Linked DNA regions of Homo sapiens: regions 1, 2, 4, 5, 6 and 7 are each linked to region 3. Evidence: promoter capture Hi-C in 16 types of primary human blood cells and fetal thymus (Javierre and others, 2016). All regions are on one chromosome and are shown on one strand. Each heading gives the region's core, a stretch centred on a gene start or on the middle of the fragment in contact. The rest is flanking DNA. Distances are from core to core; before and after follow the strand shown.

Region 1 (3,935 bases), core at 1,121-3,620, 1.2 Mb after region 3:
ATTTATATTCCCAAAAAAAGGCATAAAAGTTCCCTTTTCTCCACATCCTTGCCAGCATTTGTTATTTTTTGTCTTTTTGTTTTGTTTTTGGTTTTGTTTTTTGAGACGGAGTCTCTCTCTGTCGCCCAGGCTGGAGTGCAGTGGCGCAATCTCAGCTCACTGCAAGCTCCGCCTCCCAGGTTCATGCCATTCTCCTGCCTCAGCCTCCGGAGTAGCTGGGACTACAGGCACCCGCCACCACGCCCGGCTAATTTTTTCTTTGTATTTTTAGTAAAGACGGGGTTTCACTGTGTTAGCCAGGATGGTCTCTATCTCCTGACCTCATGATCCGCCCGCCTTGGCCTCCCAAAGTGCTGGGATTACAGGCGTGAGTCACCACGCCTGGCCTATTTTTTATCTTTTTAATTATAGCCATTCTAACTGGGGCGAGATAACACTTCATTGTGTTTTTGATTTGCGTTTCCCTGATGATCAGAGATATTCTAATCATCTCTGTCATAAAAATGGACAAGATCTGAATAGCCATTTGTGTGTCTTCTTTTGTGAAATATCTATTCAGATCCTTTGCCCATTTTTTAATCAGATTATTTATTTATTTATTTATTTATTTTGCTGTTGAGTTCCTTGTGCATTCTGGATACTGATTCCATGTTGGATTAATAGTTTGCAATATTAATAGTTTGCAAATATTTCCTCCCATTCTACAGGTTGTCTCTTTACTCTGTTGATTGTTTACTGTGCAGAAGCTTTTTAGTCTGATATAATCCCACTTGTTATCTATGCTTTTGAAGTCTTACCCATAAAATCTTTGCCTATACCAATGGCCTAGAGCATTTCCCCTGTTTTCTTCTAGTAGTTTTATAGCTTCAGATCTTATGTTTAAATATTTAATCCATTTTGAGTTGATTTTTATATATGGTGGGAGATAGGCATCTAGTTTTATTTTTCTGCATATGGATATCCAATTTTCTCAGCACCATTTACTGCAGAGGTTGTCCTTTCCCCCAGTATGTGTTTGTGGCACCTTTGTCAAAACTTGGTTGGCTATAAATACATGGATTTATTTCTGATGTCTCTATTCTGTTCCGTTGGTCTATGTGTCTGTTTTTATACCAATATCTTGCGGTCTTGATTACTATAGCTTTATAGTATATTCTGAAGTTAGTAGTGTAATGCCTTCGGTTTTGTTCTTTTTGCTCAGGATTGCTTTGGCTACTCAGGGTGTTTTGTAGCTCCATACAAATTTTACAATTGCTTTTTCTATTTCTGTGAAGAACGTAATTGGTATTTTGATAGGGATTGCATTGAATATATACATCTCTTTGAGTCGTATGGTCATTTTAACAATTCATGAACATGGGATGTCTTTTCATTTGTTTGTATCCTCTTCAATTTTTTTCATCAATGTTTTCTAGTTTTCATAGTAGATATCGTTCACCTTTTTGGTTAAATTTATTTCTAGGTATTTTTGTAGCTATTGTAATTGGAGTTGCTTTCCTTATTTTTCAACTAGTTTGTATTGGTGTATAGAAATACTACTGATTTTTTGTACTGATTTTGCATCCTGCGATTTTGCTAAATTTATCAGTTTCAAATATGTTTCCTGTGCCTTTTCTTATCTCTTCTCCTTCTGAAATTCCCATAACGTGAATATTCATTTGCTTAGTGTTGTTAACAGTGTTCTATATGTACCATAGGCTTTCTTCATTCTTTTTCTTTCCCCTCTCCCCCTACTTCTTTTTTTTTTTCCATCTGACTGGGCTATCTTAAAAGACATGTCTTCAGGTTCAGACACTGTTTCTTCTGCTTGATCTAGTCTGTTGTTGAAGCTCTTAATTGTATTTTTATTTTACTCATTGAATTATTTAGTTACAAGAGTTCTGTTTGGTTGTTTTTTAATGATATTTACCTCTTTGTGGAATTTCTCATTCAAATCATGAATTGTTTTTCTGATTTCATTAAATTGACTATCTCTGTTCTCTTGTATCTTATTCAGTTTCCTTAAGAACATTATTTTAAATTCCTTTTCTGGCATTTCATAGATTTCCTTTGCTTTGGGATCTGTCACTGGAGAATTCATATGTTCCTTTGAAGGTGTTGTGTTTCCTTGTTTTTTCATATTTCTTGTGTCTATATGTCAATATCTGTATATCTGGTGGATCAGTAGCTTCTTCCAATTTTATGGAGAAGCTTTCATAGCAAAAGATATGAAAGCTATTTCTGTTGGCATGTCCTATAGTGTTGGTTGGGTGGGATGCTTTGGCTTTGGTTCTTGATTGATTCAGTAGTATGGCCTCCTTATGGTTTCTTCAGCTATAATCAATGTCAGTGGTGTCTGTGACTGCCTCAACGGCCTAGGGTGTGGTTGATTGTGGAGGTTGGGGGTGAGACTTTGCTGGGAATCAGAGCACTGGGTGGGCCAGTCCTTGGGCCCCTCAGAGCATGCCCATGCATGGCTGCTTCACCACTGGAGGGGAGGGGTCACCAGCAACAGCAGCAGATCCTGGGCAAGGCTGTCTTCAGGCCACTTAGGGGCATGTGCAGACATGCAGAAGCTTTGTTCTGGATGAAAAAACGTCACTGACAGCAGCGTCAGTGGGCCTGGGAAGGCCAATTCTTTGGCTCCTAGGAGGGTGCTAGCTCTGCTGCTAGAGCAAATGAGGTCACTAGTGGTGGCAGCTGTAGTCCACAGGCCCTGGGGAGCATGCCTGTTGGCTCCCTCTGTCCTGGGGCAGCATTCTTGCTAAGCTGAACTGCCTGTGCTTCAGGAAATAATGTGTTGTGTGCACTCAAGTAAACAAGGTCATGGCTGCACAGCTGGGTTCAGCCTATGTTGTGACATCACAGCCCTCTAGATGGATGTGACAGCACGTCAGTGGCGCACAAGAGATATGGAGATGCAGGAGCTATTGGGCCTTAGGGCAGGATGCACTCTGGTGGTTACTCCATTCTCAAAATGGTGACAGAATGGTGCTGCCCAGGGGGCAGGGAGGAGAACCCAGAATGAATTCCCTCTCTGGAACACTGCAATCATGTGAACTCCAAGCAGCTCCCTATACTGAGCTCAGGTCCCGCAAGGGCTGTGGGGCTCTCCTGTGGCTAGGATTGCAGGAGTCCATGGTGGGAATGTGAACTGCTGGAGATATCCTGCTTATATTTTCCTTGCAATGGGGAGCCCCTCCTGACTCCTAGCCAATTCTAGCTGGGTGCTTTTCTTCCCTCTCTGTGCTATCATCCTGAGTCTTTGTGCATCAGAGGGTCTTTATCACTTCTTTGCTGAAATCCAGTGTTCTCCCCAAGCACTCTTTTGACATATGGTTATCTATGTGTTGTTTTGGCCTTTCTTTATAGTCTATCATATTTTAGAGTGGCGTGTACCTGTTTCTCTTGAGTCCACCCACCCTCTACTTAATGTTTTGCAAAGCACAGGATTTGTGCCATTACTGGAAATAAGAGAATATTAGAGACATAGTATTTAAAAATATGAGCTCAGGATAAGCCCTGGAAAGGAGTTAAAGGCCCTTCCCAGGGTTCTAACAGAGGCCCCCAGCCCACCTTCTTTTCCTGCCCTGAATTCTGTCCTGTATCACAAAGGGTCTCCCATGCATGTCTATGGACTCAACAACCCACATATCTAAGCACCAAATATATCTTGCCTACCTAACTGTCTCCTCTTGCCCACTCATCACACTTAGGGGTACGTATACACCAGCAGCACAGTCCATCTTCAGCAAGACAAACATGGGGAGAATCTGAAAGATAAGTGTCTGGAGTGAGCAGTGAATGTCAAAAGTGAATAGATTCTGAAAGGACTTGTCCCTTTGACCCCATGGCCTACTCTTCCCAAGGGTGGGGCACAGCTGGAGGAAAGTCCAAGAAGGGTCCTCTAAAGATTGGAGTTCAGAAGGGGCCGAGTTTCTGGAGTCCAAGGATAT
Region 2 (3,778 bases), core at 1,258-3,757, 1.3 Mb after region 3:
AAGACAATAGTAATACAATTTTTCAAATAGATAGGTAATTTTCTGTCAAGAAGCGGTGTGTGCTATGAAAAAAAAACAGGTAAAGAAATAGAAGTTGTCGCCAGGCACGGTGGCTCATGCCTGTAATCCCAGCACTTTGGGAGCCGAGGCGGGAGGATCATGAGGTCAGGAGTTCGAGACCAGCCTGGCCAATATGGTGAAACCCCGTCTCTACTAAAAATACAAAAAGTAGCTGAGCATGTTGGTGTGTGCCTATAGTCCCAGCTATTCGAGAAGCTAAGGCAGGAGAATTGCTTGAGCCCAGGAGGCGGAGGTTGCAGTGAGCTGAGATCGTGCCACTGCACACCAGCCTGGGCATCAGAGTGAGACTCCGTCTCTTAAAAAAAAAAAAAAGAAATAGAAGTTGTCAAGATGTCAAGAAGTATCATTGTAGATTGATTGCTCAGAGATGGCCTTTTTGAAATAACTTATGGGGTAAGCAAAATGATTAGAGAGAGGGAGACAAGGGGAGATTTGGGGGAAGATATGCCCCTCTACTTCAGGTCTAAGTTTTTTTAACACCTTAGACAAGATGCCCTGGGCTGACATGTGCAACCTAGCCCCTCTATTTACTATCTCTCACTTTCCATCAGCAACATCAAACAGCCTTCAGGTCTCCATAGTCACCACTTTACTTCTTACTTTTTCTCCTTTCACACAGTCTGTCCTCTGTCTGAGATGTCCTCCGCATTTGTCCCTTCATCCCAAACTTGACGGAACTCCTGGAAGTTTTCCCTGATTGCCTTCTGCATACACACACACACACACACACACACACACACACACACACACACACAGGTGCCCCCAAAGCATCCTGAGCTTACCTTTGTCATTGCATTCATCATATTGCTTTATGTGGTAATCACATTTGATGGTACTTTGAAATATGCAACTTTGAAATGTAATCCAACATAATAAAATTTTACTTATTCATCCAATTTGAAATAATGTACATTATCAATTTTTTAATTCATCAAGAGTTATTTAATTTCAAAATCATCATCCTTCATATTTCTAACATTAACAAGTGACAGTGCCACTTAGACTGGTAAATAGAAAGAACTGCCATCTTTGGCCAATTTTATGGGGAAAATTGTCTTGAATTTTGTTTTTTATTTCATGTCCCTGTCAGGTATTTATAGTGTATTTTTAATTCCGCCAAGTCCAAATACAGTTTTCTAATTAGGGATCATTTTTGCCGTAACCAGTGTTGCCTGGCAACATAGGTATCATTCTACCCTATGCAACTGCTAGAGGAACACAGCTAGAAAGTTAACTGAAGGTCAAATATGCATGCATAATAGGAAAGGATTTTGTTACACTTTTTAAAAAAATAAACTTTTGAGATATAATTGAAATATAACTAGCAACAGGTTTTTATAGTACACATTTGTTAGTTCTTGACAAATACATATATTCATGAAACCATCACCACAATCAAGATAATAAATACATGCATCACTCCCAAATGTTTGCATAGATCCCTTTGTAATTCTCCCTCTACACTTTCTGAACTGCCCCACTCATCTCCCAGCAACCACTCACCTGCTTTCTATTAATATAGATCAGTTTGCATTTCCTAAAATTTTACATAAATAAAATAATACAATATATACTTTTTTGGAGGAGGAGAAGGGACTGGCTTTTTTCATACAGCATAATTATTTTGAGATTCCTTCATTCCATATGTGAATCAATAGTTCATTCCTTCTTATTGATGAATATCATTTCCATTATAAGGATATACCACAATTTGTTGAACTGCTCACCCATTGGGTGGCCATTTGAGTTGTTTTTAGTTGCAAGCTATTGTTTTGTTTTTGCTTATTTGCTTTTATAGTATATTCATTTGAAGCAAAATCCAAGTAAGATCAATGCATAATTCTATAATTCATGCTGCATTTCTTAGCTGGAATATATCTATCAAGAGAAATTTCTCCTCATCAACATTTTGATTACACTAAAGTATGGATTGTACTGGAAGGATAGCATTTATGTTTGACTGAACTTTAGTTTCAGAATATCTTCTCATCCACAGGAACAACTTGGTAACGTGGATCATGACTCTTTCTTGACCTATAGGACTCCATAGATGTGCTTCCATTTGACTGGATACCAAAGGCAAGAGGAGAAGGTGCCAGTAATATATTTCACTGGCTATATACGGTAGTTTCTTGAATTCTGGTGTTTTGAATTATGAGAGCTTCTCAAGAATGCATCCTTCACAATTTAAGTTTATATATCTATGTCCCCCTGTAGACTGTGAGCTCCTTGAAGACAGAGAATGTGTCTTGCAAAGCTGTGTGTCTACAGTGCCTAGCACAGTGCCAGAATATAGTAAGCTCCCAATAATTGTTTCTCAAGGGAACATAAGTATTGAATTAAATCCTATTGCAAGACTGTAGGATCTGGTGTTGAAAGAGCTGAAGCCCTGATTCTCAGTAGCACATTAACAACTGGGAGGGAGAGGATTGAAGTCACCTGGAAAAGAAGAACAGTTTTGTGTCTGTTCTGCCTCTGGCTTTGTCCTTCATTTTACCCCTGAATCCATCTCTTGGTAGGTTGCTGTTTTGTTTTTGAGCTTATTAAGACTTTTTAAAAGTTACCTATACCTTCAACTTAGGGACAGAATTGCTATATTGCTACTTCATGGCAAAATAGGTACACGGTAGATAAATAGACGGATAGATGGATGATGATAGATTAGATAGATAGATAGATAGATAGACAGATCATATTAATAGATAGATAATAGGTAGACTAGATGGAGAGAGAGATAGGTAGATAGATGATAGATAGATAGATAGATGATAGATAGATAGATAGATAGATAGATAGATGATAGATAGATAGATAGACTGAAATACAGTCTGTTTTCTTGCTGTCTTCTTGACAAACATATAAACAGCCCACCCTAACATGGTGACTCATGATTGGTAGGGTGTCCCAAAGTACTACGGTAAGAAGTCACTTAACATAACAAATTCATTGGATCTGGAATAATTTTTTCACTTCATTGTATTCAGGATAATTATTTTAAAAACAGAAACCAACGTGGACTTTGGAGAGAGATAAACCAGGGTGCGATTCTTGGTTCCACCCACTGTACGCCTTTCAGTACAACTTAATCTACCCACCCCTCAGCTTATCTGTAAAATAAGAATAATAAAACTTATGTTTAGGGTTTTTGTGAGCATATATATATAAAATGTACAATACAGTGTTCAGTAAATGATAGCAGAGATCATGACAAGCCAGGAGGAGCATGATCCTACGGAGGACAGACTTTGCAAGGCCAAATGCTGTAGGAGAGAAAAATCTAGACTTCAGAGTCAGACAGACTGGGATTCAAATTTTGGTTTTTCTACTTTTTTATTCTGCCACCTTTAGTAACATAAGCTCCCATAATCTCAGTTCCTTCCTATGTAAGATGGCAATAGTTAGAGATCTCATATGTTAGTTGAAAGGAGTAAATGAAAAAACATTTGCATAGCATTGGGCATATAGCAGGCATAAAAAATTTTTATCACCTCTTCTTCCCTTTTCTGACACTAATGTTTATTTGAATATTTTCATCTACATTCTTTCTATATGGACAGCCTCCTAATTTTCTGAAGGTCTGTAATTAGTATTTGCTGGAAGCAACACTTGAACAGTGACTCCAGTCTAGACTATCCTCTGGGAAGTGAACCACAGCTACCCACATATTCGATTCTTGCATCCATCTAGGGAGCACAGC
Region 3 (3,899 bases), core at 141-2,640:
AACTTGTTTGACTCCAGAATTCCTGTTTGTCAGAACATATTCTGGGACCATTGTTTCTCAGAAGTACATAGTAGGTAAGAACATAGTGGATCCTGACTGCAAAAATCCAGCTCTACCACTTACTGTGGTCTCGAACAAAGTACTTAACTTCTTTGTACCTCAGTCTCCTCATCTGCCAGATATGGATAATAAGACCCACTTTATAGGTTCATAGTGAAGATTAAATGACCATACACAACACACATCAAATTACTAAGTGTAGTATATGTTAGCTATTATTATTTTATTTATTCAGTGCTCTACTAATAACCTAGGCCCCATACACAACTGAAGTATAAATTCCAAAAGTGATAGAAAGTTCTTTGTGACTTTTCTGAACTCAGGAACATCTGAAGTAGAGAACAGTATAGAGATCTTGGGTTTGGGAGTACATTCAACAGAGTTTCCAGTTTAAATCATCTGTCTGGTCAGTATGGCTGCAGAGTCATGCCGAAATGAAAATGTTGACTTTGAGTAACTAAAGGTAAAATAAAAGAAAAAGGGAAGGTGGAACAGTGGTAAGAGTTATTCTTGTATTCATCTAATTTAGACTTAGTTGAAATTGAAAATGTCAAGTTATGAGTAGTGTAGAACAGTAGACATCAAACACTTAAAATTCCAGCTTCCTGGATTAATGCTATGGAAAGAATGAAGTTGGTTGATAATGTTTAGCCTAGCAAGAAGGTGAAGAAGAAAGCCATACAAGAAGTGGCTTAGGCAGCAAATTATAAAGGTGACCATTCATTCAAATCAGTAAAACAAACAAGTATACCTTATTCTTTAGGTAAAATTGATGGATCTCTGTTTTCCAGCAGTTCACAAACAGAGGGGTACATTGTAAACAACAAACTAACAAAATAAATTCTGGGATGGCAACCTGCTAAGGTATCCCAGAAAATAAGAGGTAGGACATGAATTTAAAAGATTGGAAGGTATGTCTTCAGTACTGGCCTGGCCCTGAGTAGACTAGTGCTCCCTCCCATAGGGGTGCGTGTGCACACATAATACAGGAGGGAAGCCTTCCCTTCTAGAGCAAGTGATTCAGCTTGGGAGGCTGTGACTGAGCTACACTAAGTAAAAACGGGAGACTTGATTGTCCTTCCTTCAACAGACCTGTCCAAAATGACTGGAAAGTAAATACCGTAAATCACTGTTGTCAGGGCGCACATTCCACCTCCTTCCTCCCTTACCCACAGCGGTCCTCATTTCCACACTCCCTCAACGGTTCGGGGAGAGCTCGTGGTCTAAGTAACGAGAGGACTTCTGACTGTAATCCTAGCACGTCACTTTGTTGAAGGCAGACACGTGGTTCAGAGAGAACTTATAAATCTCCCCTCCCCGGCAAGATCGTGATGTTATCTGCTGGCAGCAGAAGGTTCGCTCCGAGCGGAGCTCCAGAAGCTCCTGACAAGAGAAAGACAGATTGAGATAGAGATAGAAAGAGAAAGAGAGAAAGAGACAGCAGAGCGAGAGCGCAAGTGAAAGAGGCAGGGGAGGGGGATGGAGAATATTAGCCTGACGGTCTAGGGAGTCATCCAGGAACAAACTGAGGGGCTGCCCGGCTGCAGACAGGAGGAGACAGAGAGGATCTATTTTAGGGTGGCAAGTGCCTACCTACCCTAAGCGAGCAATTCCACGTTGGGGAGAAGCCAGCAGAGGTTGGGAAAGGGTGGGAGTCCAAGGGAGCCCCTGCGCAACCCCCTCAGGAATAAAACTCCCCAGCCAGGGTGTCGCAAGGGCTGCCGTTGTGATCCGCAGGGGGTGAACGCAACCGCGACGGCTGATCGTCTGTGGCTGGGTTGGCGTTTGGAGCAAGAGAAGGAGGAGCAGGAGAAGGAGGGAGCTGGAGGCTGGAAGCGTTTGCAAGCGGCGGCGGCAGCAACGTGGAGTAACCAAGCGGGTCAGCGCGCGCCCGCCAGGGTGTAGGCCACGGAGCGCAGCTCCCAGAGCAGGATCCGCGCCGCCTCAGCAGCCTCTGCGGCCCCTGCGGCACCCGACCGAGTACCGAGCGCCCTGCGAAGCGCACCCTCCTCCCCGCGGTGCGCTGGGCTCGCCCCCAGCGCGCGCACACGCACACACACACACACACACACACACGCACGCACACACGTGTGCGCTTCTCTGCTCCGGAGCTGCTGCTGCTCCTGCTCTCAGCGCCGCAGTGGAAGGCAGGACCGAACCGCTCCTTCTTTAAATATATAAATTTCAGCCCAGGTCAGCCTCGGCGGCCCCCCTCACCGCGCTCCCGGCGCCCCTCCCGTCAGTTCGCCAGCTGCCAGCCCCGGGACCTTTTCATCTCTTCCCTTTTGGCCGGAGGAGCCGAGTTCAGATCCGCCACTCCGCACCCGAGACTGACACACTGAACTCCACTTCCTCCTCTTAAATTTATTTCTACTTAATAGCCACTCGTCTCTTTTTTTCCCCATCTCATTGCTCCAAGAATTTTTTTCTTCTTACTCGCCAAAGTCAGGGTTCCCTCTGCCCGTCCCGTATTAATATTTCCACTTTTGGAACTACTGGCCTTTTCTTTTTAAAGGAATTCAAGCAGGATACGTTTTTCTGTTGGGCATTGACTAGATTGTTTGCAAAAGTTTCGCATCAAAAACAACAACAACAAAAAACCAAACAACTCTCCTTGATCTATACTTTGAGAATTGTTGATTTCTTTTTTTTATTCTGACTTTTAAAAACAACTTTTTTTTCCACTTTTTTAAAAAATGCACTACTGTGTGCTGAGCGCTTTTCTGATCCTGCATCTGGTCACGGTCGCGCTCAGCCTGTCTACCTGCAGCACACTCGATATGGACCAGTTCATGCGCAAGAGGATCGAGGCGATCCGCGGGCAGATCCTGAGCAAGCTGAAGCTCACCAGTCCCCCAGAAGACTATCCTGAGCCCGAGGAAGTCCCCCCGGAGGTGATTTCCATCTACAACAGCACCAGGGACTTGCTCCAGGAGAAGGCGAGCCGGAGGGCGGCCGCCTGCGAGCGCGAGAGGAGCGACGAAGAGTACTACGCCAAGGAGGTTTACAAAATAGACATGCCGCCCTTCTTCCCCTCCGAAAGTAAGTACTTATTTTGACTTCCATCCCCTGAGGTTTAGCTCTGCCCGGAGCTCTCAAAACCGCAGCAGCTCCCGGGATCGCCCTTCCCTCTCGCGGTTCCCGTTCGCTCTTTTCCCGTTCTCCTGTCCTTCACCCCACCACCTCCTTTTCAGTTGTATGCTTGAGGCCATCAGGCTTTAAAATGTTTACTTTCTACTTTATTTTCTCCATCTTTCCCTTCCCCCTAACAATTCGGTGCTTTAAAAGGCGTTATTCTCTTTTTCTCTTCCCTGAAGTTCTTTAGTCGGCCACCAGCTAGGAGTCAGCCCCACTCTGTCAAACTAGAGGTGCTCCCAGGGGCAGAGTTAAACTGAGGAATCTTGGTAGGTTTGTTTTCTTTGCTCCGATTGGCGTGGAGCGCGCCGAACTGGTGCACGAAGGGTTAAAAAAAGTGTCTCAAAACTAGCCTCTCCGGAAGGCGCCCCCTTTCCGTGCTGACCTATCAGCTGGTTCCCCAAGCCTTCTCTATTGTCTCTAACTACCCTAAAAATGTCAGCATCGCCGAGACAAAACCCGGTTTGGAGACCCCTCGAGAAACCTACCTGGCCCTCAGTCCTTGATGTATCATTTGCTATCACTAGGTGTTTCATTACCCAAAGGCAAAATCCTATAACCACGTTCCCTTTTCACTTAACCTGGAGTGTAGAAAGGACAACTCCGTTTCTGACTGTGTTTTAAAAGGTTTTGTTCACGTTATTTTTCAGAATACACTCAAACCTGCCTTCTTCACATCTCCAGTGTAGCAGATCATTTTTCTT
Region 4 (3,843 bases), core at 987-3,486, 1.7 Mb after region 3:
CAAAAATTAAAAAGGGAGAGGAGCAATTAGAAAAATGATATATTTGATAACTGGCATACAGTTCAAAATGACAAGAGTTTCACAGAATACTGGCAGAATTCTGAGTTCTGTAATACACTACAGAAACAGGCCACCTTCAGGGTGATTTTCTAAGTAACAAAAAATGTATCAGGAGGCTGGGCATGGTGGCTCACACCTGTGGTCCTGGCACTTTGGGAGGCCAAGGCGGGCGGACTGCTTGAGGTCAGGAGTTTGAGACCAGCCTGGCCAACATGGCAAAATGCTGTGTCTACTAAAAAATACAAAAATTAGGCGGGCATGGTGGTGCGCACCTCTAAGCGCAACTACTCGTGTGGCTGAGAACAAGAATTGCTTGATCCTGGGAGGCAGAGGTTGCAATGAGCTCGGTCTCCAAAAAAAAAAAAAAAAAAAAAAAAAAAAAAAACAGTATCAGGAGCTTTAACTATAGTCTCACTTAACTCTGGCAACCAATCCTATCTGGAAGACATTATTCTCCCTTTCTTAAAACAAGGAAACTATGGGAGAAGCTAAATAAGGAACTTGTCAAGGTTTCACAACTAGTAAGTGGCAGCCAGGATTGGACTCAGGTCTGCAGAAACCAAATGTCTTTGCTCTCAATCATGAAGGCACTCTAATGCCTTTCCAGCTCAGGAATCAAACCCATTCCTTTTAGAGTTCATTGATTTGTTGTGCGGTTAGTCCATTACTGCAACCAATATGCCAAAACATTACCATCTTTTAAATGTTTAAAATGGCTATTAAGTTGTGTTTTTGTTCAACAACCTTAAAACATCACCAAAGTTGAGAATATAATGAATAATTTCATCAGCCCCACGTGGTCAACTGTATATAAAGGTATGGGCTTCTTCAACATTAGAAAGTACTGTGTGTGTATTATCATACATATGCATTAACAAATATTAGGTCAGGCTGGGTACTGTGGCTCACGCCTGTAATCCTAGTACTTTGGGAGGCCAAGTCAGGATGGCTTGAGCCCAGGAGTTTGAGACCTGCCTGGGCAACACAGTGAAACGCCATCTTTCCAAAAAAGACACAAACACAAAATTAGCCAGGCATGGTGGCACGCGCCTGTAGTCCCAGCTACTAAGGAGGCTGAGGTGGGAGGATCATCTGAGCCCGGAAGTTCGATGCTGCAGTGAGCCTTGAAAGCGCCACTGCACTCCAGCCTGGACGATAGAGCAAGACCCTGACTCTCAAAAGAAAAAAAAAAATCGGCAAACTACTTAAATTCTTCTGTGTAATTTCCCAAAGTAATGAAAAAGCAGAAATTCTAAGCAATCTACCAACAATAATCTTGGTCATGTCGAAAAAATAATTCCAAACAGAACTTAAGATGTGTCAGTAAGGTGACAGATCCAATGTTTACTCTGAAATTTACTACACATCCACAGGGTGCAGTAAAAGCAACCGCATCAGTCTACAGTGTACCTGGGTGTTTTCCCCAATTACCCTACCACATTTAATTAAAAATAAATGCAGCCTCAGTTGAAATCCTAAATGCTAATATGCTCGTCTGGGTTATTTCTTCTGAACTCGATAAAACGTAAGGAAAATTTGACTCAAGTGAACTGAGGATTTCTCCTGAGAGGAGGGACAGGACAGGAAAGGAGGTAAGAAAAGGAGTTGGGGGAAAAATGCTAAAAGAGAAGCGACGACTATTGGATTTTAAGTTTTAAAATCTTATTTCCACGAGCAACTCTCGCTCTCCGGGGGAAAAAGGGAGAGGTGAGTTGACTGGGAGTTCATCCCTCTGAGAAAAAGATCCGAAGCGGAGTCTCGTGTTGTCTAGCCCGGGCTCACACTGCGCCTCCCTCCATGCCCGGGAAAACCATCTTCAGGAGCAGATGCACCTGCCGGGGACACGGGGCGAGGGGTGCGGAGCCTCCTCCACGTACAATTCTGGGGCGAGGGGCAGGTCCAACATCCCAGATGGTGACCACCACTGCGCAAAGCCGGGGCGCAGCGACCTTCCACGCCCTGCACCCTCCCTGGCTGATGCAACCCACACAGGTCATTGGTCTCGGCCCCTTACCTAGCGGAGGGTCTCCTGAATTCACGGTCAGAGAGAGCGTCGCCATCTCCACCAGTCCGCTGGTCCACCTGTCAGTACGCCTGGCTCGTGCCAGAACTACGGAGGACCCCGCGAAAGGAAGAAGATGCAACGTGTGCGCGTACCCGACGCCGCCGCAGCCTTCGCTCCGCCCCTGCGCCGCAGCTACTGCCGACACCGCGCACGCCGCGGTGCGACATCGTCGCGCGCCGTCTTCGTCCCCGCCCGCAGGTTCCAGAGCCTGCTACCCCTCCTCTTGGCCGCCAGGGTTAGAACGGCCTGCGTGGCCTTTCGTGCTGCGGTGGGAAAGACGCTGAAGTGGACGGGACTTTACGACACTTCGTCAAGTCAGCAGGTCGTAAAACAGCAGGTTGTAAAACCATCTTTAAGATGGGATAGGCGTTTATGTGAAGCACGAAACAAAAGCATGCACTGTCTTTATGTAAAAAGAAAAGTCCTGGAAGCATACACACGATAGCCATGATTACGTTGGGAATGGGAGAAGTTTTTCTCGTTGTTTATTTTATACATTCCCCCCCGTTTTTTTTTTTCCAAAACAAGAACGTATTTTCAAGAGTTATTTGCGTGTTGAAAATAATGGTTAAAGGAAATATAAAAGACTCTTTAAAAATCACTGCAGGCCGGGCGTGGTGGCTCACGCCTGTAATCTCAGCACTTTAGAAGGTGTAGGCGGGCGGATCACCTGAGGTCAGGAGTTCGAGACCAGTCTGGCCAGCATGGTGAAACCCCATCTCTACTAAAAATACAAAAATTAGCCTGGCATGGTGGTGGGCCCCTGTAATCCCAGCTACTTGGGAGGCTGAGGCAGGAGAATCGCTTGAACCTGGGAGGTGGAGGTTGCAGTGAGCCGAGATCGTGCTACTGCATCCAGCCTGGGCGACAGAGTGAGACTCCTTCTCGAAAAGAAAAAAAAAAAAAATCACAGCAGAGGCCGGGCGCGGTGGCTCAGGCCTGTAATCCCAGCACTTTGGGAGGCCGGAGGCGAGCGGATCTCGAGGTCAGGAGTTGGAGACCAGCTTCACCAACATGGTGAAACTGTAGAGACGGGGGTCTCTACTAAAAGTACAAAAATTAGCCGGGAATGGTAGCGCGCACCTTTAATCCTAGCTACTTGGGGAGCTGAGGCAGGAGAATCGCTTGAACCCGGGAGGAGGAGGTTGCGGTGAGCCGAGATCGCGGCACTGCACTCCAGCCTGGGCGACAGACTGAGACCCCGTTTCAAAACAAACAAAAAATCACTGCAGATAGGCGCAGTGGCGCGCTCCTGTAGTCTCAGCTATTAAGAAGGCTGAGGCAGGATCGCCTGAGCCCAGGAAGATGAGGCTGTAGTGGCCTCGCCGTGGACTTGCCTGTGAGTAGCCACTACCCTCCAGCCTGGCCGACACAGGGAGAGACCTGATCTAAAAAACAAAACAAAAAAACCCTCCGATGCCGCCCCCAATCATGGAGTCCACAGGTGTTTTTTTCAGCGTCTCATCTGATTCTCCCTTTCAAATCCTTTGTGACGGACGTGCATGCATGAGCTCCAGAGATACTCCAAGGTGTATACACACATTCGTGTGTGTGAGCTGCACCCATATTTCAAGGGCTGGTGTTAAAGTACGGGGACCCGGGATGGATTCCAAGAACCATCTCAACCACATCCTCGCCTACACTTTTTCTTAACCTCCCCAAGACATCCTTGTTTTCATTAGGGAGGGCCCCTTAGATTACATCTCCCATGAGACTTG
Region 5 (4,166 bases), core at 582-3,081, 1.3 Mb after region 3:
ATAATTATACAACTCATTATAATGTAGAAACAGTGGGAACCCGGAGCTTATTTTCCTGCAACTAGACAGTCCAAGGGGGTTAAGAGAGAGGGAGGGATGCATAGGCAGAACCAAGAGGATTGTTGGGGTAGCAAACCTCCTCTGTGTGATGCTATAATGGTGGGTAAATGTCCTTATACATTTGTCCAAACCCAAGGAATTTTCACAACATCAAGAGTGACCCCTAATGTAAACTATGGACTTTAGGTGATAATGGTATATCACCATATGTTTAGCAACTGTAACAAATGTACCACTCTGGTAGGGGGTGCTGATAATGGAGGAAGCTGTACATGTGTTGAGGTAGTGGGTATTTGGAACTCTCTGAATCTTCCTCTCAATTTTGCTGTGAACTTAAAACTGCTCTTTAAAATGGTTTTCAACAATATGTACAAAAAAGGGGTAAAAAATCATGTCCACCTAGAACCTGTGAATGTGACCTTATTTGAAAATAGTGTCTCTTTGGATACAATCAAGTTTTAGATGAGATAATATTGAATTAGGGTGGGCCCTAAATCCAATGACTGTTGTCCTTATAAGAGAGAAATCTGGACACACAGACAGACACAAAGAGGGAAGAAGGCCGTTTGAAGACAGGGGCAGCCACTGGAGTGATGCAGCTACAAGCCCAGGAACACCATGAGTTGCCAGCAACCACCAGAAGGTGGGAAGAGATTAGGAAGAATTCTTCCCTAGAGCCTTTGGAAGGAGCATAGCCCTACCAACACCTTGATTTTTGATTTCTGGCCTTCATAATTGTGAGATAATAAATTTCTATTGTTTAAAGCTGTTCAGATATTGGTAACTTGCTATGGGAACCCTAGGAAACTAATACCCTTGGTGAACCAGGCCCTTCACAATCCATACCACTTTATCTCCTTAAATAGTTCCTTATACCCCATGCTCCAGAACCACCGAACTACTTGTCATTACCCAAACATGACATACAAATTCCATTCCTCTTTGCCTTTTTACCAGCAGTTTCTTCTACCCTAAAAGCTTTTCTGCCCCTCACTTACCTAAAATAATCATACTCATCCTTCTAAATTGAGATTAAGCAAATTAACATTATCTCCATGAAGCCTTCCAGAATACTCAGCCACCAAAGCTGGTCATGTTCTCCTCTCTGGACCACACAGATCTTTGCATTAGGAACTTAATTCTATTTATTTCTACATTCTGTGTACCTAACACAGTGCTTGATATATAATAGCACTCCAAGGAGTTTTTTTAGGTGAAATAATTATCAATTAATGACTTGATAAAAAATAATTAAGCCTCCCAAAAGAAGCCAAAGAAATGTCAATAGAAAGAAAATGAAGCAATCTTTGTCTTAGTAAGTCTCATTTGTATAATTCACCAAAATTTTTCATCTACCTAAAATTGTTTTAAAAACAACACCTTATCTATTCTCAAGAAAACAAACTAACATGATGACATAAACTAATGTGCCTATTTTTTGAAAGTATAGATTTCAATGAGTACATGCCACTACGTGTTCAAATCTACACTGTCCATTCTGAGGGAAATAGAACAACAGATTGGAGATAAGAACACCTCTGTTTGTGTGCTGGCTCTTTGGATTAGTTGATCCTTTCAAATTTGGTTTCCTCATCTGTAAAATAAGGTGCCTACAATTTGACCTCTGCTTTTTATATAATTTTTGCATATCACAATATTCACCTTCTAATAAAAAATTACTCTTAAGAAATAAAATAATATAAGAACAGACAGATTCAAATAAAACCAGCAAATAATACAAAAATAATTTCTATTTGATTTTGGAAGTCAGGGACAGAAAATGCATCCAAACTCAATCATTCCATTCAAACTCAATCATTTGAATTCATTCAATCCCTTCCCCTTCGCATCTGCATCAGAGCCCTTAGTTCAGTTGGTCCCAATAGCCCTAACTTAGAGAATTAATATGGTGCTGAAAGGTTCATGACTATTTTGGATAGACCAGATGTTGATGACTTAAATTTATGTTAGTAAGTTTTGATTGTATCTGTTCTTGCAGGAAGGTTTAGTGGGGAATGGTGTCTTAGTCAGTTCACGCTGTATGACAAAGCACCATAGAATGGGTGGCTTCCTAAGCAACAGACATTTATTTCTCACAGTTCCAGAGACTGGAGGTGTGAGATCTGTGTTCCAGCATGTTCAGTACTGGCAAGGCCCTCTTCCAGGTTGCAGACAGTCAACTTCTTGTATCTTCACATGGTGGAAAGACAGCAACAGACCTCTTTGGGGTATTTTTTTATACAAGCACTACTCCCATTCATGTGGGCTATACCCCCATCACCTCACTTACTCCCAAAGATCTCACCTCTCAATACCATTACTTTGGGCATTAGGATTTCAACATCTGAATGCTGGGAAGACAGAAATATTCAGTCCCTAACAAGTGTGTATGAGAAGGAGCTTTTATCTCTCGCATATTCTTCTTTAGTCTAAGACCTTCCAACAGCAAGGTCTTTTCTTTTTCTTCCTTATATGCCCTTATCAGAGCTTACGAGCATGTTCCACACATGATTGGTAAGGGATAAATCCATGCCTCAAATTATTGAAAAACTACCCAAAAACTGGGAAGCTTAGAGAAGAATATTTTATGACATCTATCATCTTGAAATTTGTAATAGATCAAGTTCCATATTGCTCCATGTAGAAGACACAAAAGGAGATTGACTAGCATCAAGAGAATCACTGCCATTGAAAAGAAACAAAAAGAGTAATTTTATATGAGGCTATATTGATCTAAATGATAAAATGTTTTCTTTGAAACAAAGAAAAAAATTGTATGTGCTCCTTATTGTAAGGTTAAATAAACACTAGTTAGAAAGAAGTGTGGGCTCTTATTTCTAATTATGGGCCTTGCAGAGTTTGTAGAGAAAATATTTAGCCAACATATCCTATCTCAGGGACTCCTACTTGATAACATCCTAGATAGGGTATACAATGACACCATTTCTCTCTGGACACACTGAAGTTGAGAACAAAGAGGCAATTATGGTTACCAAGGGCAGCTCTCTAACTTGGGTTGTCCAACGGTTATTAAAATAACTTAACAAGAGATTAATTCCAGTACTTCAGAACAACAGAAAACAGCCAACACTGGAAGTAAACATCTAGTAAAACAAGATCAATAAATGGGAAATCACAAAAATTGGATTCCCCGGAACCAAGAACGTCCTCTCTGCAAATCCTTAAACTATGGGAAAATTTGGCTTAAAAATATATGAACATGTTTCTGAATACAAACCTATACATGTGTGTATGTATACAGTATATATATTATGTATGTATATATTATATAATAAACCTTGTATAAATTCATACAGAGGTATGACACTTGATTAATCTACACTTGGCCTATAATTGAAATTGAATTTAGAAATATAAACCAACTCCCTTCCATTACAAGTCCTCGCCAAGACTCAACTCACTAGAATTTACTTAACCTCATGATACATTTTTTTGTTATTAATCTTGTTAAAATCATGCCCCTTCATTGTGAATCCATTGGATCACTGAGATCCTCCAAAAGCTTTGGGAAGGATGAAAAGACACCTTTTCTTCCCATGCACAGCTTCATAGTACCTTCTCTTGCATTGATATAGCTAATTTCATCAAGATCCCCACCTTTAGTGATCTGCAGGTGAAATGCAGGCACCTGACTCCAAGTTCATGCCCCAACTTAAGTCAGCCCCATGCTCAGCGGCACTCCCAAGACTTCCAGGATAGGTCTATGGGCTCTAATCACAGCATACATCACCCAGGAAACAAAAAAACAGCCTCCCTCTCCTAGAGTTCCAATCTTAATGAGTGCTTATCCACCCCATGAAAAAAAAGGGAGAAGATAAATTCTTGTAAACACTGCATTCCCAGTTCCTCTCTCTCTTCCCTCCTCACAGTCTGCAAGTAGGAAGGAGGAAGGAAGCTGGCATGTTGGGTGGAGGAAGAAGAGCTGGCTCAGCCTTTCCTTTCACAGGTTCTGTGGTCAAATCAGTAACTGGGTCTGACTGCAAAGAAGGCTAATCAGAATGTGAAGGATGATGTAATTCCTGTTGTTTTCAGGTGTGAGCCATTAGCAACAAATTCAGAACAACAACAACAAAAAAAACACACAT
Region 6 (4,048 bases), core at 359-2,858, 1.3 Mb after region 3:
TGGTCATCGTACACTGTCCCCCTGTCCTTCACTTTTCCATGGTAATCTTGCTCCTTCTTTCTTCCTCTCCTGATTTTATTCTCTCCCTTTCCACATTTATTTCCACAATGAAGAATATTTGATATTTTATTTATATCAGGCTCTATTCTACTCAACATGGTTATCAATGACTTGGATGAGGGATTACAGGCAGCTCAGATGCTTATAAAGTATGAGATAAAGTGTGAGATATTAAAATAAAAGGACAGGATAATCTTTTAAATGATAGAGATGGCTGGTTCTAATAACATACTGAGTTTTAATGAAAAATAAAAGTGTTTTTCTTAGGTATAAAATATCTGTATGTAGATATATAAACACACAGGAAAGAGTGCAATTTTTTAGGAGGTCACAGTTTAAGAGGAACTTCAGCAAACTAAAGTGTTTCCAGTGCAGGAAAATCTAGATGGGAATGAATCTAAATGGCTTAATGTTATAGGAATTGGGATGATTAAGCCTGAAAATGAGAAGACTTTAAGGGCATAAGACCACTCTTCAAATAAATTAGAAGGCTAGTGAACAACTGCCAATACATTTTATAGTCAGATTTATATCGACACCACTGAACTAGATGGTTCCCAAAATCTTTTCTAGATATGAGATTCTGTGTTCTTCTCCACCACGGGCTATTCCAACCTTCTCCTTCAGAGCACCTCCACCAGTCTAGAAATGTACAAATACTAACAACTGGTTTGGAATGCCCCAATATAAAATTTTCAATGTCAAAGATGGTTCTGGCTTTCACATCAACTTTTTGATAGTTTTGTTTTGTTTTCTCAGACTCTTCTAAAAGGTCTGCCTGACTACACAGAAGTTATTTTCTATAAGACTAAAACATATAAAGAAATTCATGCCTAAACTTGAAGCATCTCATCAATTTGTAATCAAGTCTCTTTTGCATAGACATGTTGCTCAAGTCTTTTAAAAAACATCCACAAGCAATTTCTTCTCTCCTTTCAGGATTTTTAACCACTGGAATGAGCAGCAAGAAATGGGAAATGAATTCAATGATGGGAGAAAATAACGGTCATGGTTTCTTATGACATTTAAGAAAATGGGAAAGTAGGATAAACTCATCTAAGTAACTATTCTAAAGGTTGAGTATTTGGCCCCTTTCTTGTCCAACATAACCATTAACAGTTGTGACCCAAGGAGTTCCAGGACATAAGGCTGAGCATTTGAATGACAAGCTAGGAGGGTGCCTGGTGGTGAGCACTCACTGTGTGCATGTGTGCCATCCAAAATGTTTCATATGGGAAAACTAAGACAAGAAAGTTAATTAACTTTACAAGATAGAAGGAAAAAAAAAGTCCATTTTCACTTCAGTTTACCACTGTGAGAATTGAAAAGATTCCACTTCCAAGAAAACTATTAATTTCTACAGTGTCAGCATGCTTTTTATAAACTGCATTTTTATGATACCATGCTTGGTGTTGGAAACATTTTATACTCCAGAGGAAAGTCTAAGTTTTTGCAAAGTGGAGGAACAGTATCATATTTAAACCATTTGATCTATTTTTAAAAACACTGTAGTTAAGCCTACAGAATGTCTTTTAAAGTATTTTAAATAGAGCCTTTTACAAGACATCTCAAACGGGTAATATTCTGCTCCGTCTCTCCTTTGTCTTGCTTTCTGCACATTCTGTGTGTTCCAAGAATGTGCGCTGTCCACAGAGTCAGATTGCTGGATGTCCAATCCACAACCCACATATCGATAGAGACTCCTCAAGCTCCAGCATGAATTAATCCGCTGCCTACCACATCCTCTTTTGGAAGAAGAAGAGCAATCAATGTGATTAAATAATGGGAAAGAGTTTTTGCAAGAAAAGTTTAAAGGAACTGGAGGTGTTTCACCTACAGAAGAGAAACAGTGATTTGTACACAGCTCTTCAGTCACTGAAGATTTCTTTTCTAAAGGCAGTAAATAATTATGTTCCACATCCACAGAGAATCAACAACAACAACAACAAAAAAAACTGTGTTTAAGTTATATCCAGAGAGTTTACCATTGAGCAAAAAAAGGTATTTTCAAGGTTTGAGTGATAAAGCAGTAAAATGATCTCTTCTAGGAGGTTATAGAGCCTGTCCTGCTAAAGAGCTTCCATAAGAGAAGAGTTGCCCCCACGTCTTGAATGGTGTAAATAAAGAAGGTCTGTGACTAAAATGCAGAAGTGGGACCTTGTGGCCCAATAACCCAAGACAGAGATGAATATATCCTGTTATAAAGGCCTGTAAGAAAAGTATTCTTGGAATTTGCCTTGGTAGTACATTCTAGTACTTAGCAACCTTCCCTATCAGGGAATTCCTTTTCCGAGGCTCAAAGCTCATGTGTTACATTCAGATCTTTCTCTATGAGAGTGAGGATGTATAACACACCCTTGAGTGGCCCTTGTAGATGCGTTGCCAGCTTCCACCTCAGTATGGTAGTGGTCTATCTAGGCTATTGTCTAATGTGCCCATCACAGGGCCATAAATAGAAGAGCCCTTCATAGAGCACATACCTGATTCTTCTGACCATGAGGAAAAGAGTCACATGTGCTCTTGGCTGACCTCAAAAGAGATGTAGCATCAAATTCAACTGACCTCAAGTACATTTTTAGTAACTCTTATTTCCACAGCTCTAGGCTAAGTGCTGGCCAGAAACATAAAAATTATAAGTCATATTGTCAGCCTCAAGTTGCTAAAACATTTGGGGTAAAAATAAGACATACGCATATTAAAGAGATAAGAGTGAAACAGCTTTTGTTAAACGACACTGTGACAGGATGAAAAAGTACTGAAGAAATCAAAGACGACAGGGACATCTGCAGAGTAGAGTAGCTGGGAAAGGCTTCATGGAGGAGATGGGACCAAGTTTGGAAATTTGAATACCTGTCTTGCTTAATTTTTCATCTAAGTGACTTCCCAGACTTCTCTTTGTCCTCTGTAAAGTATATTGACCGATACCCGCAAGCAGCTGATCACTTTTAGTTTGTAGTGACTTGCTTCTAAAAGTGAACGTTTTTATACCAGCTGAATTTGTTTTTACAGTTTAGTAAAATATTATATAAATGGATGAAACAGTAAAAAAAAATTCCTAGAAAAGCTAACTTATATACCTTGAAAATCGCTGATATATATGAGTTGCTTAAAAATATTCTCCCATGTAGGTATTGGTGAAATAACTGTAAAGAAAGGTAACTGTTAATAAAATTAGAAGATTTCTAGACACAGATTGCTTCATGAGTATTTTTCTGTTCTTAGTCCACTTTAAAGAAATCCAATTGGAAATCATAAGCTATGTAAAGAAGACAACATGAGCTCTAATCCCTGAACTCATACTCAGAAAACATAAATTAGCCTTGATCATACATTTTTAAGTTATTCTGTGCTCAGTTATATGTTTTTACAATAAAATGAAATATTAAAATATATGCTACCATTTTTAATGATCCTCTTCTTTAAGTGACTTAATTAACCTGTCAACTACTTATTCGATAGCATAAGCACGGTTAATAGGGCTTTTGTTGGCAAAACTAACCTAAGAAGCACTGGACCAGAGGGACAAGGACGTGGTTTCTAGTTTTGCCTTCTCATTGGAACTTGGTCAAGACAATTCCTTGCCTGGCTGGCTCCAGTTTTATACTCCATAAAGTAACTGTGGTAAATTAGGTCTCTCTACAGAACACCTCCCCGCCCACCGTCCACACCAAGCCTTGGCATTCTGCAAATCAATGATACCAGCTTTCATAAGCCCTTGGTGCATTGCAAACCTATAACACAGACTTGTTAACTAACAATCATTTGCACTTTTTACTGTCCTGACATAGCACATTTTTAAATGTTCCAGTCTTCCAGTGCCCCTAGAACTGATCTTATTTCTCCTTATGACTGCTTTTTTCTCAGAGAAAGTGTAGTATTTAAATTTTGATCTCCACTGGGTTTGAAGCAGAATAGAGAGCAAGGTGTGTGAGAAAACGACACTTCCCACAAGTGAAAAAATATGAGAGACAGTTACTATGGGGGTTTA
Region 7 (4,088 bases), core at 311-2,810, 1.4 Mb after region 3:
ACTGTGGTTGTCTAAAATAGAAACCTGCAATATCTTTGAGGTACATTTATATTCCAATCCAACATACATACTTTGAGAAGAGCGAACTTTCTAAATACAAATCTGAGCATGTCCCTCCCCTGTTCCAAACCCTTTATGTGCCTACAAATATGGAAATAGCTCACACCTCAGTTTCTTTGCTCTGAGCCTTCCCTTTGTTCTTTCCCCACCCCATGTTTTCGCTTAGCAGTGATCACCAATTTTTTTATGTCATGGCATGCATTTTAAAATAATACTTATACAGCAGGCCAGAATATAAAGAGGAGCTCCAAGAGCCCAAAGCTGAGGAATTCAATAATTTAACACACCTCTAATCCATGTAGCTTGTCACCGAGATTGGGGAACTTTGGCTTAGGAAATATTAGTTCAACATTTGAGTCTTGCTGGAGAGTGGCTTTCTCTATAAAATTTTTTCTTCACTTTCGTGACCCCAAAACTGCCTGGAAAACTTTTTAGTAATACTCTGAATACTTAATTTGTTTACATTCCTGCCTTTTTCTATGAGACTGAAAATCCCTTTGGAACAGAAAACATAGATTACTCACCTACGAATTCTCAGAATACAGTGATGGTGCCCAGCCGAACTGATAAAGAGCTAAAAAAAAGGAAGAGAAAGATCCAAGAATCTTTATTCCAAGTATCCTGGATGGTTGTTGGGTTAATTTCCCTTGGTCATCATTTTTATATTTGTAGACATTTTTCTAAAACTAAAGCGGTTTCTTTCTGTTCCCCCAAGCCTTTTTTCCTAGAGGTAAGCTTTCAAACTACTACTATGACTAAGCAAAGTGCTGGCATTTCAAGTGATAAACATCCCAAAAAGAAAAAAAAAAATGGCTACTCTGTGAAATCGACTTCTAAGTGCCCAATAGACTATTGAGCTTTTTGCTGCCAGAAAATTTTCTGTCAACTGATGCTTCCAGAATCAGATGGTTCTCATCAGCAAGAAGAGAGAGATTCCAGAAGGTGAAGATTTTATAAATGCATTGAAAAATGTCAACGTTTTTGTTTCAAGTTATGATTGAAATGAGCATAACCTCATATTTTAAAACACTAGGAATGCTCTTGAAGTGGTGAAAAGACAAAAAGGAAAGCTGAGGCTGCCAGAACAATTTTTCGATTTCTCAGATGAACTTGACAACAAAATGAGTATGGCCAGAAGTCCATCCTCACCCGGAAAGCACTCATGTGCTCACTGAGAAGCCAGTGAACATCATAGCTGATAGCCAGTTCCAAGGAAGCTCATTCAAGCACCTCTATCCAAGAAAGGGTGGCTCCAAGCAACACTGCCCAATTGCAGTAATTTCCTTCAGACTTTACACGTGACTATCAACTTATCGCTACTGACCTAAAAGCCAAACTACGCTTTTTTGTGATAGTTATTGATCTTGCTTTTTTCCCAAACTTAGCTTCCCTGGTGAATAAACACTCCAGTACTCTTCACTGTAAAGTGTAGATGATACAATGCTTACCTCTCAGGGTTGTTGGAATAGTGAGAAGAGCCACAAAATATCATTGATCTATACATTCTAGTGCTAAACATCAACTGAAATAGAAGATGATGCTCTTCTTTCTTTCAGTAGGGGCACAGAAGAATTCACTGGGAAACATGGGAGAGTAACCCAGCTCTGGGGCTTCATCTAAAGGACTAGGGGAAAAAGGGCTCCTATGAAGATGTGGTTGGTGGCTTTGTCCTGTGCCCTCTTAGATAAGCTGGACTACATCTCTCAGAATTTCCTTCCCTGCATGGGGCGAGGCTAGGATTGACAACAAGAGAAATGTTCATAAGTTTTGGAAAGCAGAACGAAGTAGCAGCCATTGCACACTGAAGGTATGTCAAGGGCATGAGGCATGGTTGCAGCTCCTGGATGTTGTGACTGATCTGTGGGCTCATTTTGTTGACACGGGACCCTCCAGGCTTGTAGCTACTCTCATTCCCACCAGACAGCTCCCTTCAGCTTCCTCAAGTCCAAGCCAGTTTGTCCTGGAGGGGTTTAATTTAACCTCATGGGTTCCAGGTGGGTTTTGCTCTTTCCCACTTAACATCTGGCTTTCCTTCCTGACAGCCCATCCTATCCATCCACAGCAACTTCAAGCCCACACCAGGTGCAGAGACCACAGCATCCCATAGAATTCTTTATCAGATCCCACAGTTATGGAGGATCCGTATCATACTCCCCTTATTTCAGATCATTCACTGTGGCTCTGCTTCTCTGATCGAGCCAAACTAATAAAGTAGAAATCCTTCCCACCCTACTTTTCCCCCCAACTTTCTTAGGGAAATGAAAGGAAGCTTCCTAAGGAAATGCACTGTGCCATCCTCTGTCACAGATAGAAAAAGTTTCCGTCATAGTCATGTGACTCCGAAATGCACAATCACCAGCACCTCATCCACTTTCATTCCCAATAGCCGGGGATCAGGAGTAACATTTATATCATCATAAAAGAAATACTTGTAAGGCAAATTCTTGATCTTCAGTCTGAGTCATCCAATGTACTCAGATCCAAAGGAGGCAATTCTCAATTCCTTTAACACAGATGGGACCAGTGAGAGGGGATCCTAGTCATCCTACAAACTTCTGGAGTTACCACATGAAAGAACTTCTCTACTTTAAAATACTTACTCTAGCATCCTGATCCACATCCTCAAAGACCTTTTCAGAAGCAGGAAACAAAAGTAAATGGCCACCCACATACTATGGAGTTGGTACATTTGCTAAGTTGCCCAGGCAACAGAACTAATGACTCAAAACACTGCGGTCAAAACTTTCCAGAGATAGTGATCTTTACTGCAGCAGAAAATACTTTTTCACCTGTAAAATACAACTTCTGTGTTTCAAACTTTCTTTCTTTTTTTTTTTTTTTGAGACGGAGTCTCACTTTGTAGCCCAGGCTGGAGTGCTGTGGCGCGATCTCGGCTCACTGCAAGCTCCGCCTCCTGGGTTCACGCCATTCTCCTGCCTCAGCCTTCCGAGTAGCTGGGACTACAGGCGCCCGCCACCAAGCCCGGCTAATTTTTTGTATTTTTAGTAGAGACGGGGTTTCACTGTGTTAGCCAAGATGGTCTCGATCTGCTGACCTCGTGATCTGTCCGCCTCGGCCTCCCAAAGTGCTGGGATTACAGGCGTGAGCCACCGTGCCCAGCCTCAAACTTTCTTTAGAGTAACACAGCTGAACAATAATTGTGCGATCTCAAGAAAGTCTGGGTGTGTTGAGAACACTTTAAACCTAAGCACCTTGCTATGGTTTGAATCATGGTGTCCCCACCAAAATTCATGTGGAAACTGAATCCCCAGTACAATCTGATTAAGAAGTGTGGCCTTTAGGAGTGGATGTAAATAAACAAAAAGAGGTCCAGAAAGGAGGCAGGAAGTTTAATTGTGGTATCTTGGAGGAAGGCAGGAGAAATGGCCCCTGGAGAGGACAGCTTAGTGTGTTTGTTTATCCCAGCCCAGGCCTGGAGGACAGGTCAGCCCTATCCTCAAGGAGGCTGCAGACAGAAGCCAAAAACACTGTTTCCAGTGGAATTTATCTCTCAGGATCAATCAGGATTACTCCAGGACCCAAGGGACCAAATCCATCCAGCTGGGGAGTGAGGATATATTTACAGGAAAACACAGTGTTGCTTTGGGCACTGGAGATGACCCAGGAGGAACAACAGTGGGTACTTATGGGCTCCACCAGGGCAGTTTCCAGGCCTGGAAGCAGCTCTCTCCCTAGAGCCCCTGTAACAGTGGCCACCACATATTTCCCACTAGTAGCCAATGGGCAGGGGATATCGGCAGGAAGTAAAATAAAGAAAACTGCACGTGAGCCCATAGACAACACGTAGGGACTCCTAAAGTCTCCATAGTTGCTGGAGATATAATTTTAATATAATTCCACAAGTGCCCACAGGCTAGAGGGGTGGAGGATACCCAGGTTCTATTCCATTAGATTAGAGTGAAATGAATGAGGAAAATACTTATCCCAAAAGCAAATGCAATATGTAGAAACTACAGAGTAAAAGTTCAAACTAACCTTTCCTTACTTGATATTTACACTTACCAATT

What was found. Contacts are between HindIII fragments. The CHiCAGO score rates a contact against its expected background, and 5 or more counts as called.
Region 1: a fragment that was not itself captured here is called in contact with the fragment with the promoter of TGFB2 in region 3 in 3 of 17 cell types (monocytes, M0 macrophages and M1 macrophages); the score reaches 14.4 in monocytes.
Region 2: a contact is called between a fragment that was not itself captured here and the fragment with the promoter of TGFB2 in region 3, in 2 of 17 cell types (monocytes and M0 macrophages). The highest score is 10.1, in monocytes.
Region 4: a contact is called between the fragment with the promoter of EPRS1 here and the fragment with the promoter of TGFB2 in region 3, in 6 of 17 cell types (naive CD8 T cells, total CD4 T cells, monocytes and 3 more). The highest score is 9.8, in naive CD8 T cells.
Region 5: a contact is called between a fragment that was not itself captured here and the fragment with the promoter of TGFB2 in region 3, in 2 of 17 cell types (M2 macrophages and monocytes). The highest score is 5.9, in M2 macrophages.
Region 6: a contact is called between a fragment that was not itself captured here and the fragment with the promoter of TGFB2 in region 3, in 1 of 17 cell types (monocytes). The highest score is 6.9, in monocytes.
Region 7: a fragment that was not itself captured here is called in contact with the fragment with the promoter of TGFB2 in region 3 in 1 of 17 cell types (neutrophils); the score reaches 5.2 in neutrophils.

The regions. Positions count from the first base shown.
Region 1 is chr1:219,583,461-219,587,395 of GRCh38, forward strand. No RefSeq gene overlaps it. Among named protein-coding and RNA genes, the nearest start is that of ZC3H11B, 28 kb to the right of the region's middle. The HindIII fragment of the contact is 365 bases long and covers 2,189-2,553 here.
Region 2 is chr1:219,646,972-219,650,749 of GRCh38, forward strand. No RefSeq gene overlaps it. Among named protein-coding and RNA genes, the nearest start is that of ZC3H11B, 36 kb to the left of the region's middle. The HindIII fragment of the contact is 6,356 bases long and covers 1-3,778 here.
Region 3 is chr1:218,343,946-218,347,844 of GRCh38, forward strand. It overlaps TGFB2 (transforming growth factor beta 2), which reads left to right and starts at 1,391. Exons shown (of 7, transcript NM_003238.6): 1 at 1,391-3,102. The coding sequence starts at 2,757. It overlaps TGFB2-AS1 (TGFB2 antisense RNA 1), which reads right to left and starts at 1,733. Exons shown (of 3, transcript NR_046268.1): 1 at 1,658-1,733; 2 at 1,230-1,443; 3 at 251-517. RefSeq lists a silencer at 1,319-1,378 and enhancers at 1,759-1,808, 2,940-3,440. The HindIII fragment of the contact is 5,586 bases long and covers 1-3,899 here.
Region 4 is chr1:220,044,269-220,048,111 of GRCh38, forward strand. It overlaps EPRS1 (glutamyl-prolyl-tRNA synthetase 1), which reads right to left and starts at 2,237. Exons shown (of 32, transcript NM_004446.3): 1 at 2,075-2,237. The coding sequence starts at 2,120. RefSeq lists enhancers at 1,390-1,947, 1,989-2,318, 2,379-2,448. The HindIII fragment of the contact is 10,455 bases long and covers 1-3,843 here.
Region 5 is chr1:219,679,065-219,683,230 of GRCh38, forward strand. No RefSeq gene overlaps it. Among named protein-coding and RNA genes, the nearest start is that of ZC3H11B, 68 kb to the left of the region's middle. The HindIII fragment of the contact is 1,591 bases long and covers 1,037-2,627 here.
Region 6 is chr1:219,624,591-219,628,638 of GRCh38, forward strand. No RefSeq gene overlaps it. Among named protein-coding and RNA genes, the nearest start is that of ZC3H11B, 14 kb to the left of the region's middle. The HindIII fragment of the contact is 7,610 bases long and covers 1-4,048 here.
Region 7 is chr1:219,708,333-219,712,420 of GRCh38, forward strand. All of the region lies in intron 5 of LOC105372926 (a long non-coding RNA gene), which reads right to left. Among named protein-coding and RNA genes, the nearest start is that of ZC3H11B, 97 kb to the left of the region's middle. RefSeq lists an enhancer at 1,831-3,030. The HindIII fragment of the contact is 1,534 bases long and covers 794-2,327 here.